3 separate regions of the Homo sapiens genome follow, and regions 1 and 2 are each linked to region 3. The links are contacts of gene promoters, found by promoter capture Hi-C in human tissues and cell types (Jung and others, 2019). All regions are on one chromosome and are shown on one strand. The core of a region is centred on a gene start or on the middle of the fragment in contact, and the rest is flanking DNA. Distances in the headings are between cores, read along the strand shown.

Region 1 (3,772 bases), core at 51-2,550, 220 kb before region 3:
TTTTGGGGCTGAGATGATGGGGTTTTCTAAATATATTATCCTGTCATCTGCAAACAGAGAAAATTTGACTTCTTCTCTTCTTATTTGAATACGCTTTATTTCTTTCTCTTTCCTGATTGCCCTGGCCAGAACTTCCAATACTATGTTGAACAGGAATGGTGAGAGAGGGCATCCTTGTCTTGTGCCAATTTTCAAAGGGAATGCTTCCAGCTTTTGCCCATTCGGTGTGATATTGGCTGTGGATTTGTCATAAATAGCTCTTATTATTTTAAGGTATGTTCCATCAATACCTAGTTTACTGAGTGTTTTTAGCATGAAGGGATTTTGAATTTTATTGAAGGCCTTTTCAGAGTCTCTCTTTTTCTATTGTTTGGAATAGTTTCAGAAGGAATGGTGCAAGCTCCTCTTTGTACCTCTGGTAGAATTCGGCTGTGAATCCATCCGGTCCTGGGCTTTTTTTTGTTGGTAGGCTATCAATTATTGCCTCAATTTCAAAATGTGTTATTCGTCTATTCAGGGATTCAACTTCTTCCTGGTTTAGTCTTTGGAGGGTGTATGTGTCCAGGAATTTATCCATTTCTTCTTGATTTTTTAGTTTATTTGTGTAGAGGTGTTTATAGTATTCTCTGATGGTAGTTTGTATTTCTGTAGGATCAGTGAGGATATCCCCCTTATCATTTTTTATTGTGTCAATTAGATTCTTCTCCCTTTTCTTCTTTATTAATCTGGCTAGTGGTCTATCTATTTTGTTAATCTTTTCAAAAAAAAACAGTTCCTTGATTCCTTGATTTTTTTATGGTTTTTTTTTGTGTCTCTATCTCCTTCAGTTCTCCTCTGATCTTAGTTATTTCTTGTCTTCTGCTAGCTTTTGAATTTGTTTGCTCTTCCTTCTCTAGTTCTTTTAATTGTGATGTTAGGGTGTCAATTTTAGATATTTTCTGCTTTCTACTGTGGGCATTTAGTGCTATAAATTTCCCTCTAAACACTGCTGTAGCTGTGTCCCAGAGATTCTGATATATTGTGTCTTTGTTTTCATTGGTTTCAAAGGACTTATTTATTTCTGCCTAATTTCATTATTTACCCACTAGTCATTCAGGAGCAGCTTGTTCAGTTTCCACGTACTTGTGCAGTTTTGTGTGAGTTTCTTAATCCTGAGTTCTAAGTTGATTGCATTATGGTCTGAGAGACTGTTTGTTATGATTTCCATTCTTTTTTATTTGCTGAGGAGTTTTACTTTCAATTATGTGTTCAATTTTAGAATAAGTGTGATGTGGTGCTGAGAAGAATGTATACACTGTTGATTTGGGGTGTAGAGTTCTGTAGATGTCTGTTAGGTCTGCTTGGTCCAGAGCTGAGTTCAAGTCCTGAATATCCTGGTTAATTTTCTGTCTTGTTGATCTGTCTAATATTGGCAGTGGAGTGTTAAAGTCTCCCACTATTATTGTGTGGGAGTATAAGTCTCTTTGTAGGTCTCTAAGAACTTGGTTTATGAATCTGGGTGCTCCTGTATTGGGTGCATATATATTTAGTATAGCTAGCTCTTCTTGTTGCATTGATCCCTTTACCATTATGTAATGCCCTTCTTTGTCTTTTTTGATCTTTGTTGATTTAAAGTCTGTTTTATCAGAGATTAGGATTGCAACCTCTGCTATTTTTTTTTTTTTTTTTTTTTTTTGCTTTCCATTTGTTTGGTAAATCTTCCTCCATCCCTTTATTTTGAGCCTATGTGTGTCTTTGCATGTGAGATGAGTCTCCTGAATACATCACACTGATGGGTCTTGACTCTTTATCCAATTTGCCAGTCTGTGCCTTTTAATTGGGGGCATTTAGCCTATTTACAATTTAAGATTATTATTGTTATATGTGAATTTGATCCTGTCATTATGATGCTAGCTGTTTATTTTGCCCATTAGTTGATGAAGTTTCTTCATAGTGTTGACGGTCTTTGCATTTTGGTTTGTTTTTGCAGTGGTTGGTACCAGTTTTTCCTTTCCATATTTAGTGCTTCCTTTGGGAACTCTTGTATGGCTGGTGGTGACAAAATCCCTTAGCATTTGCTTGTCTGTAAAGGATTTTATTTCTCCTTCACTTATGAAGCTTAGTTTGGCTGGATATGAAATTCTGGGCTGAAAATTCTTTTCTTTAAAAATGTTGAATATTGACCCTCACTGGCTTGTAAGGTTTCTGCAGAGAGAGCCACTGTTAGTCTGATGGGCTTCCTTTATGGGTAACCCAGCCTTTCTTTCTGGCTGCCCTTAATATTTTTTCCTTCATTTCAACCTTGGTGAATCTGACGATTATGTGCCTTGGGGTTGCTCTTCTCGAGAAGTATCTTTGTGGTGTTCTCTGTATTTCCTGAATTTGAATGTTGGCCTGTCTTGCTAGGTTGGGGACGTTCTCCTGGATAATATTCTGAAGTGTGTTACCAACTTGGTTCCATTCTCTCTGTCATTTTCAGGTACACCAATCAAACGTTAAGTTTGGTCTTTTCACATAGTCCCGTATTTCTTGGAGGCTTTGCTCGTTCCTTTTCATTCTTTTTTCTCTAATCTTGTCTTCATGCCTTATTTCATTAAGTTGACCCTTAATCTCTGATACCCTTTCTTCTGCTTGATCGATTTGGGTATTGATACTTGTGTATGCTTCACAAAGTTCTCGTGCTGTCTTTTTCAGCTCCATCAGGTCATTTATATTCTTCTCTAAACTGGTTATTCTAGTTAGCAACTCCTCTAACTTTTTATCAAGGTTCTTAGCTTCCTTGCATTGGGTTAGAACATGCTCCTTTAGCTCGGAAGAGTTTGTTATTACCCACCTTCTGAAGCCTACTTCTGTCAATTTGTCAAACTCATTCTCCGTCCAGTTTTATTCCCTTGCCCGCGAGGGGTTGTGATCCATTGAAGGATAAGAGGCATTCTGGTTTTTGGAATTTTCAGGCTTTTTGCACTGGTTTTTCTTCATCTTCATGGATTTACCTACCTTTGATCTTTGCTGTTGGTGACCTTCGGCTGGAGTTTTTTGTGTGGTTGTCCTTTTTGGTGATGTTGATGCTATTGCTTTCTGTTTGTTGGTTTTCCTTCTAGCAGGCAGGCCCCTCTTCTGCAGGTCTGCTGGAGTTTGCTGGGGGTTCTCTCTAGATCCTGTTTGCCTGGGTATCACCAGCAGAGGCTGCAGAATAGCAAAAATTGCTGCCTGCTCCTTCCTCTGGAAGTTTTATCCCAGAGGGGCACCTGGCCAGGTGCCAGCCAAAGCTCTCCTGTATAAGGTGTCTGTCGACCCCTGCTGGGAGGCATCTCCTAGTCAGGAGCCTCGGGGGTCAGGGACCCACTTGAGGAGGCAGTCTGTCCCTTAGCAGAGCTTGAGCACTGTGCTGGGAGATCGCTGCTCTCTTCAGAGCTGTCAGGCAGGAATGTTTAAGTCTGCTGAAGCTGCACCCACAGCTGCTCCTTCCCCCAGGTGCTCTGTCCCAGGGAGATGAGAGTTTTATCTATAAGCCCCTGAATGGGGCTGCTGCCTTTCTTTCAGAGATGCCCTGCCCAGAGAGGAAGAATCTAGAGAGGCATCTGGCAACAGCAACTTTGTGGTGCTGCGGTGGGCTCTGCCCAGTCCAAACCTCCCAGTGGCTTTGTTTACACTGTGAGGGGGAAAACCACCTAGTCAGGCCTCAGTAATGGCAGACGCCCCTCCCTGCACCAAGCTGGAGCATCCCAGGTCAACATCAGACTGCTGTGTTGGCAGCAAGAATTTCAAGCTAGTGGATCTTAGCTTGCAGGGA
Region 2 (3,924 bases), core at 1,379-3,878, 190 kb after region 3:
CAGATCACTTGAGCCCAGGAGTTGGAAACCAGCCTGGGCAACATAGCAAAACCTCATCTCTTCAAAAAATAAAATACAAAAATTAGCTGGGTGTGGTGATGTGTGCCTGTAGTCCCAGCTACTCAGGAGGCTGAGGCAAGTGGATTGATTGAGTCCGGGAGGTCAAGGCTGCAGTACGCCCTGACTGGGCCACTGTGCTGTAGCCTGGGTGACAGAACAAGACCCTGTCTCAAAAAACAAACAAACAAAAAAAATAAGAACTGAGTATCAGTGACCTGTAAGACAATATAAAATGACCTTGTAACTACAATTACATTTACACGTCGTTACTTGTAATAACAATTACATTTACATGTAATAAACACATGTACATGGAATGCCATATGAAGAGCAGAGAGAGGTATTAAATTCCTTGGTTAAATTTTATAAAATATGTACAAGACATACATTAAAAACCAAAAAGCATTGCTGAGGGAAATTAAAGAAAGAGAGATATGTCCTATTCATGGGTCAGAAAACTCAATATTGTTATCTGTCCATTCTCCCCAAATTGATACATAGGTTCAATATAGTTCCAATCAAAACCCCAGGCTCTTTGTAGAAATTGACAAACTAGGTCTAGAATGTATGTGAAAATGCAAAGGACCTAAAACATGTAAAGCAATTTTGAAAAAGAAGGTTACTGTGGAATGAGTTATATTATTTGATTTCAGTACATGCAATAGAACTATATAACAATGGAGAGAGTGGTATTTGTGTAAAGACAATCATATAGGTCAATAGAGCAGAGAGTCCAGAGATAGTCTCATTCATATGTGGTGAATTGGCTTTTGACAAAATAAATAAATAAAAGGCCAAAGTAATTAAAAGGCCAAGGTAATTAACTAAGGAAAGAATAATCTTTTCAACACATAGTCCTGGAACAGTTAGTTATCCAAGTGATCCATATGTAAGAAAATAAATCTTGACCCTTATATCAGACCATACAGAAAGACTAACTCTGAATGAACCATAGAGCTAAGGGTAAGACATAACGTTATACAACTTTCAGAAGAGAACACAAGAAAATCTCTGTGACTTAGGCTTGGGAAAGATTTCTCAAATCGAACATAAGAAGCCTGAAGTACAAAAGAAAAAATTAATAAACTGGACTTCATTAAAATTAATAACTTTAGTTCTTCAAAAGACACTGTTTAAAAATGGAAAGAGGCCAAGCAAGGTGGCTCATGCCTGTAATCCCAAAACCTTGGGAGGCCAAGGAAGGAGGATCACTTGAGGCCAGGAGTTTGAGACCAGCCTGGGTAACATAACAAGACCCCATCTCTACAAAAAGGAGACAAAAGAATAGAAAAAAGACAAGACAATAGAAATTATGCAAAATGAAATGCAGAGAGAAATTTAATTTTAAAAAGTATTTTTTAAAACTTTTTAAAAATAGTTTGCCAGATATGGCAGCTCATACCTGTAAGCCTAGCTACTTGGGAGGCTGAGGCTGGAGGATCTTTTTCTCTTTTCTTTCTTTCTTTTTCTCTTTCTTTCTTTCTTTCTTTCATTCTCTTTCTTTCTTTCTTTCTCTCTTTCTTTCTTTCTTTTCTTCTTTTCTTCTTTCTTTCTCTCTCTCTTTCCTTCCTTCCTTCCTATCTTCCTTTCTTTCTTTCATTTTTTTTTGGAGCTTTCCGGTGAATACTGGGAAACCTGCTAGACAAATTCTAAAAGAGCTGTAACACTACATGGATATTTTTCAATACATATATTGAAAAACTTTTTGTAGATTTGCAATAATTTGAAAACATTCAAAGATGAACTGTGCAGCCTAGAAATATCAAAATTAAGAAAAAGGTATGTCATGAATGCATAAAATGTATGTAGACACTAGTCTATTTTATCATTGACTACCATAAAATATACACAAATCTTTCATATAAAGTTAAAAGTTAACGAAACTTACACACACACAAACACGGACTGTACATGGCACCATTCGCAGTCAAAAGAAATGGAAACAAACATAAAGATGCAGTATTACATCAGAACTGCATAAAATTAACCTGTACATCCTGTGGTACCGTAATAACTTCATAGGCACCTCCTGTTGTTATTGTCATGAAGCTTTCGTTTTAAGAATATCCACTTAACATGTCATGTAAGCTATTCATCTCCATGTGGGCAGTTCATCTCTCCAGTAAGCTGCACATCCAAATAAAAAGTGATCTTTGTTGGTTCTCAGGTATTTTTCATTGTGTTTATTGTAATACTGTAATCCTTGAATAACACCATGGGACAAGTAGGAAGTGCCACCAGTGATGTTGGAAGTGCTCCCAAGAAGCAGAAAAGTCATGTCAGTACAGGAAAAGATTGAGTTTCTTGATGTACCATAGACTGAGGCTTGTAGCTGCAGTTGCCATTTTAGACAGAGGATTCATCTTATAAACAGACAATAGAAACTTACGGTATCGATAAATACGGTACAGTAGTGTAAATGTATTTTGTCTTCTTTATGATTTTCCTAATAGCACTTTCTTTTCTCTAGCTAGCTTTATTGTAAGAATACAGTATATAATACGTATAACATACAAAATATGTGTAAATCAATTGTTTATGTTAGCGGTAAGGCTTCCAGTTAACAGTAGGCTATTAGTTAAGTTTTGGGGGTGTCAAAAGTTATATGTGGAATTTCAACTGCAGGAGTGGGGGGGTGTTGGTGCCCCTAACCCATTGTTCAAGGATCAATCATATATAATAAACCTTTACCACTCGAAAATATTAAGAAAATAAACTAATCAATTTAGGTAAAAAATTGGCAAACTATTTGAACAGACACTACACCAAAGAAGATACGAATTGCCACTACCTACATTAAAAAATGTTATCAGAAAATCTTGAAAATTAAAACTACAATAAATTACCACTGTACAGTCACTAGAATAGCTACAATTTTAGAAGACACATAATATCAAATGTCAGCGAGGATCTGGAGAACTGGCACTCTCAGGCTGTGCTGGTAAGAATGCAAAACGGTGTAGCCATTTTAAAAAACAGATCGGTAGTCTTTTAAACAAAGGCTGCCATATGCCCCGCACTTTGACTCCCAGGTATTTATCCAAAAGAAATGAAAATATTAATCTGCCCAAAGACTTATGCACCAATACTCATAGTAGCTTTATTTATAGTAGGTAAAAACTGACACCAACCTAAATGTCCACCAATGGATGAACAGAAAAGCATATATTGTATGATATTCATAAAATAGAAAACTACTCAGCGAAAAAGAAAGGAACTCAATAATAGCAACAACTTAGGTGAATTTCAAAAGCATCATGCGAAGTTAAAAAAAAGGTTGGCATAAAGATTATAACAGCATGGTTCCATATGTATGAAAGTCTAGGAATTGCAAGATGATGGTAATGGAAAGCAGACCTTTGGTTGCTAGGGGCCAGGAGTGGGAGAAGGGGATTGACTGCAAGGGACATAAGGACATTTTTTGAGGGTGATGTAAAAATTTAATATCTTTACTGTGATGGTAGTTACACAACAACATAATTTCAAAAAATCACTTAATTGGGGACACTTAAAATTGGTGAATATTTACTGTATGTAAATTATACCTAAATAAAGCTGACCCCACCCCAAAATGAAGCATATGTCATCCCCAGTTCACAGATGAGGACACTGAGGCTTGTAGAAGATTGGGAACATGCTTGCATCACAGAACCAGCAGGTAGTGACTCCAAGATTCAAACCCAGGTGACTAAGTCCACAGCTCATCTTCCTTCTTCCACATCTGGCTTCCTCCCTTGCTTATTCATTCCACAAAAAAGTATTAAAGGCTCATGTTAAAAGAACTAGCAGAATAAGTCATGTATTATGAAGGTCCCTTGGCCAAGAATCTATGGTTTTCCCCACTTAGTTCTTACCTCGAAGCTC
Region 3 (3,753 bases), core at 208-2,707:
TTCCGAGGGCGGGGGCCGGCCAGGGGGGAGGCCGTCAGGACGCGGCCGGACCGGGCCCAGTGACCCGCGGGCGGCTCCGGCCGCGCAGGCTGTGGCTCCCCGACGCGTCTGGAGTGCCTGTCCGGGACGGGAAGGACGCGAGCCCAGCGTTCCCGCCGCCCCGAGCCCTCGGCCTTGACGGCGAGAGCACCCCGAGAAGGCTCGGCGCGCCCCACGCAGTCCCGCCTGCCGCGTCCGAGGTGGCGGCCAACTGCGTGGAGGGCCGCGAGCTCGAGGGGCGTGCAGACGCCGTCGGGGGCGCGGGTGAATCGCTCAGTGGCAGGCGCCCCTTCGCGCCCCGCCGAGGCCCTAACTCGAGGCCTCACATGAGTTCCCCCAGTTCGCGAACCGTCCTTTCCCCCCGGGCACCTGAGGAAGGTGGCCAAACAATGCGGGGGCGGACCCGGGGGAGGGAGGCGGGGGAGGGGGGAGGAAGGCGGGATGTCGAGGGAGTGGGGGACGGCGCCGGCCGCCCCCGCGCCCCCCGGCCTCCCAGCGCCTCGCCTCCCATCGGGGCCACACGCGGGCGCGCACTCACGCCCACCCTCCTGCCCGGTGCGAGAAGATGGCCGTTTCTGCCTCATATAAAAGCTCTTTGTTGCGGTCACACAAAAGCGGCCAAGCCCCACTTTTCCAGTAGGCCCTTTGGACAAATCGAAGGAACTCAGCTGAACTTCCAAATGGCCCTAAACGCCAGATCGGTGGGAGCAGCTAAAACAGAGAGGGAAGAGCAGGCCTCCCGCGCCCATCTACCAAAACCTCTGGCAATATCCAAGTATTCATCCAGGAGCGGGAGCTGAGACCATTCCTAAGGGAAGAAGGAAAAGGAAAACCCACTTTTACTATCAAGGCCCAAAGGGGATATTAAATATTCACATTGTTGTAGGGTTTCTCCCCTTAATCAGGGTAGAAACATAATGCGGAAAAGTCTGGATCCACCAAAAAGAAAAAGAAAAAAGAAAGAAAAATACCAACAATAGCAACTTAAAAACAAAAACATAACAAACCAGTTGCCATCAGCCCAAAGTGGTAGTAGTAGCAGCAGCCGGCGCGTGTGATCCACTTACTTGTCCGACTCTTGTGACATGTTTGATCCAATGAACTTGCTCCGCTTTTCCTGGAGCCTCAGCCTCTGGTGAAACTGGACTTTCAAGTCTGTGCAGGTGAAGGTGTGTGAGAGCGCCCGAGATGGCAGAACAAGAGCTACAGGTAATTCTGCTTTTCCGTCCCCCCTCACCACTCTCGCTCGCTCGCCCGCTCGCGCCCTCACCTAGCCGGAAAGGTGGGATAAGGGGGGGCCCCTCACATGGGGCCCGAGCTCGGAGGCGGCCGGGCGGCGCGGAGTCCTCCTGGATCGTGGCAATGGGCAGACACAGAGCAGAAAGTGGCGGACTTGGGCGGCCACAGGTAACTTTCTCGCAAGGAGCTGAATTCTTTCACTAAAGGGTACAAGCCCGAGGGACGAGCTGCGCGATGATTGGCTGGGGAGCTCCCTCAGGTGAGCTGCCATTGGCAGAGGCGCGCTCAGGTAAGGCCCTTCTCCGAGTGCAGGTAACTCACTCCGAAGTTTACCCGAGTGGAGCGGCGGCATGCTTGCAGCTCGGCGGCAGCCTGTGAGAGCTGAGGGTCAGTTCTTCGAGTAGATCTCAAGCTGCGTTTTCCTCCTTCTCCAAAGCAGGGATGGGAAGGTGGAGGCTACTGGTTGAAGAGAAGAAAGGGGTTGGGGGAATGCAACACCTGCAAACACTAGGGATTGTGGGTCGAGCGGAAGAGCTAATGAGAGCCGAGCTCAGGTATCCCAAGTCAACCAGAATCAAATGCGCAGTACGCCACAAGGCATTTAATGCCCACAGTAACAGGGCTGTTTGACAGTGGCAGAAGAGGACGGGACTAAAGTTACTTTGTGCTGAGAGGGGGAAAGAAGCACAAAGTTTGGTCTGTTGCGTAATTGAATTTTTAACACTCTTATCCACAACAAACACTTTTTCGTGTCCTGCTGTGTAAAAGACATCAGATATATTACAGATTTTCAAACAGGTGAGCATCCTTTTACGAGCTGGGCAGGTGGGGAGTGGCGTGGTTTTGATGGAGTGAGGAGATTTGGTTGAATGAACGCTAAGATGGCCAGACGCACCTCTTCGATCTCAACTCTGCAGCCTGGGATTCCAGAGCTGCAAACAACCACTGAATTCGTTCTGTAAACCTGTTGTCATTTGACGTTTCCAGGCAGGCATCAACATTTACATTGTAATTCAATAGACGCTACTACTACAAAGGAGCTTTATTCTTCCAGCTTAATATGGTTGCTGCGGGAACACTGCAGGATGAAACTGACTTTTTTTGTGGTAATGTTTCTCCTGGTTGGGAACAACGCAAATTAGCAAAGGCGTAATTTATAACCGCTGCTACCAAAGAGTGAAGTATTTGTGGAAGTTCTGACTGGAATCTAGCTCGTACATATGGATTGTGGAAATAAAGGAGGACGTGGAAAGCTTGCCATATTTTATTTCAAGTTAATACTAAAGCTGCCAGACTTAATACAACTTTCTTTTAATCTTTATGGATCACATATTTTCTGAAAATTACATGATAAAACAAGGTTTGGTTTGTTCCATGTGTCCATTTTCAACAATAAATTTCAAAATTGTATTTTTAAAAAACAATATAAACACACACTTTAAAGAAATAATATATTTTAAGACAATGCAGGTACTATTTTAATATAATATTTTAAGATAATGCAATACCTATCATGTTCCTCTCCTTTTTAGAGGCAGCCATATTCTGCTTTTATCTGTCTCTTCTGTCATTTACCTCCCTATTTCTAAATAATTTGTACTGCCATCTCTTGATTTGCCAATAGATGTTGTGCTCTGACTACCTGTTGCTTCAGATTAGGATTTAGCTCTTTCATGCCAAGCAACTTCTCCTTCCAACACAGCACTTTCACAGTTTAGGAGCTAAGTAAGTGACTATGCCAATAGCAATGACAACACAGCCAATAGTGTACTATTCTTGTTTTCTTCCTTATAAAACCTTGTATCTATTTACTTAGTTTGTTATGCCCCATCCTGATATTTTTCTACAACTGATCTATCAAATGACTATCATGTTTATTTTCCAAATGATCAAACAATCAATTCCAATTTTGCCCTGAAAACAATTCCTCCAGAAATTCATTGTTCTACTGTTTCAGTGGAGATGAGTTGCTCTATGGATCCGCTTCTCAAGTGTCATCCTGGGACACTCTTTTTTTTTTTTTTTTTTTTTTTTTGACAGAGTCTCTCTCTGTTGCCCAGGCTAGTGTGCAACGGTGTGATCTCAGCTCACTACAACCTCTGCCTCCCGGGTTCAAGTGATTCTCCTGCCTCAGCCTCCCAAGTAGCTGGGATTACAGGCATGCACCACCAAGTCCAGCTAATTTTGTATTTTTAGTAGAGACGGGGTTTCTCCATGTTGGTCAGGCTGGTCTAGAACTCCCAACCTCAGGTGATCCACCTGCCTCAGCCTCCCAAAGTGCTGGGATTACAGGTGTGAGCCACCGTGCCCGGCCTGGGACACTCCTTAATCTGTAGTGTGAGAACCCCCATTTCTGTGTTTTGTGCCTTCTTTCTTGGTTTACTGCTTCATTTTCCATGGCACATGTTTTAGTAACAGCCCAAGAAAGGGTACAGAAGGTAAAAATTTGAGTTATTACATACTTGAATATGTCTT

Evidence for each region. Contacts are between HindIII fragments. The study calls those that stand out against the background at their distance.
Region 1: a contact is called between a fragment that was not itself captured here and the fragment with the promoter of GRHL2 in region 3, in 1 of the 25 tissues and cell types used here (mesenchymal stem cells).
Region 2: a fragment that was not itself captured here is called in contact with the fragment with the promoter of GRHL2 in region 3 in 1 of the 25 tissues and cell types used here (aorta).

Annotation. Positions count from the first base shown.
Region 1 is chr8:101,710,491-101,714,262 of GRCh38, reverse strand. The region is part of intron 2 of NCALD (neurocalcin delta); the gene reads left to right. Among named protein-coding and RNA genes, the nearest start is that of NCALD, 79 kb to the left of the region's middle. The HindIII fragment of the contact is 5,335 bases long and covers 1-3,772 here.
Region 2 is chr8:101,305,172-101,309,095 of GRCh38, reverse strand. It overlaps the pseudogene RNU7-67P. Among named protein-coding and RNA genes, the nearest start is that of LINC02844, 44 kb to the right of the region's middle. The HindIII fragment of the contact is 3,712 bases long and covers 773-3,924 here.
Region 3 is chr8:101,490,143-101,493,895 of GRCh38, reverse strand. It overlaps GRHL2 (grainyhead like transcription factor 2), which reads right to left and starts at 1,457. Exons shown (of 16, transcript NM_024915.4): 1 at 1,107-1,457. The coding sequence starts at 1,126. GRHL2-DT (GRHL2 divergent transcript) reads left to right here and starts at 1,191. Exons shown (of 2, transcript NR_186782.1): 1 at 1,191-1,446. RefSeq lists an enhancer at 911-1,439. The HindIII fragment of the contact is 12,677 bases long and covers 1-3,753 here.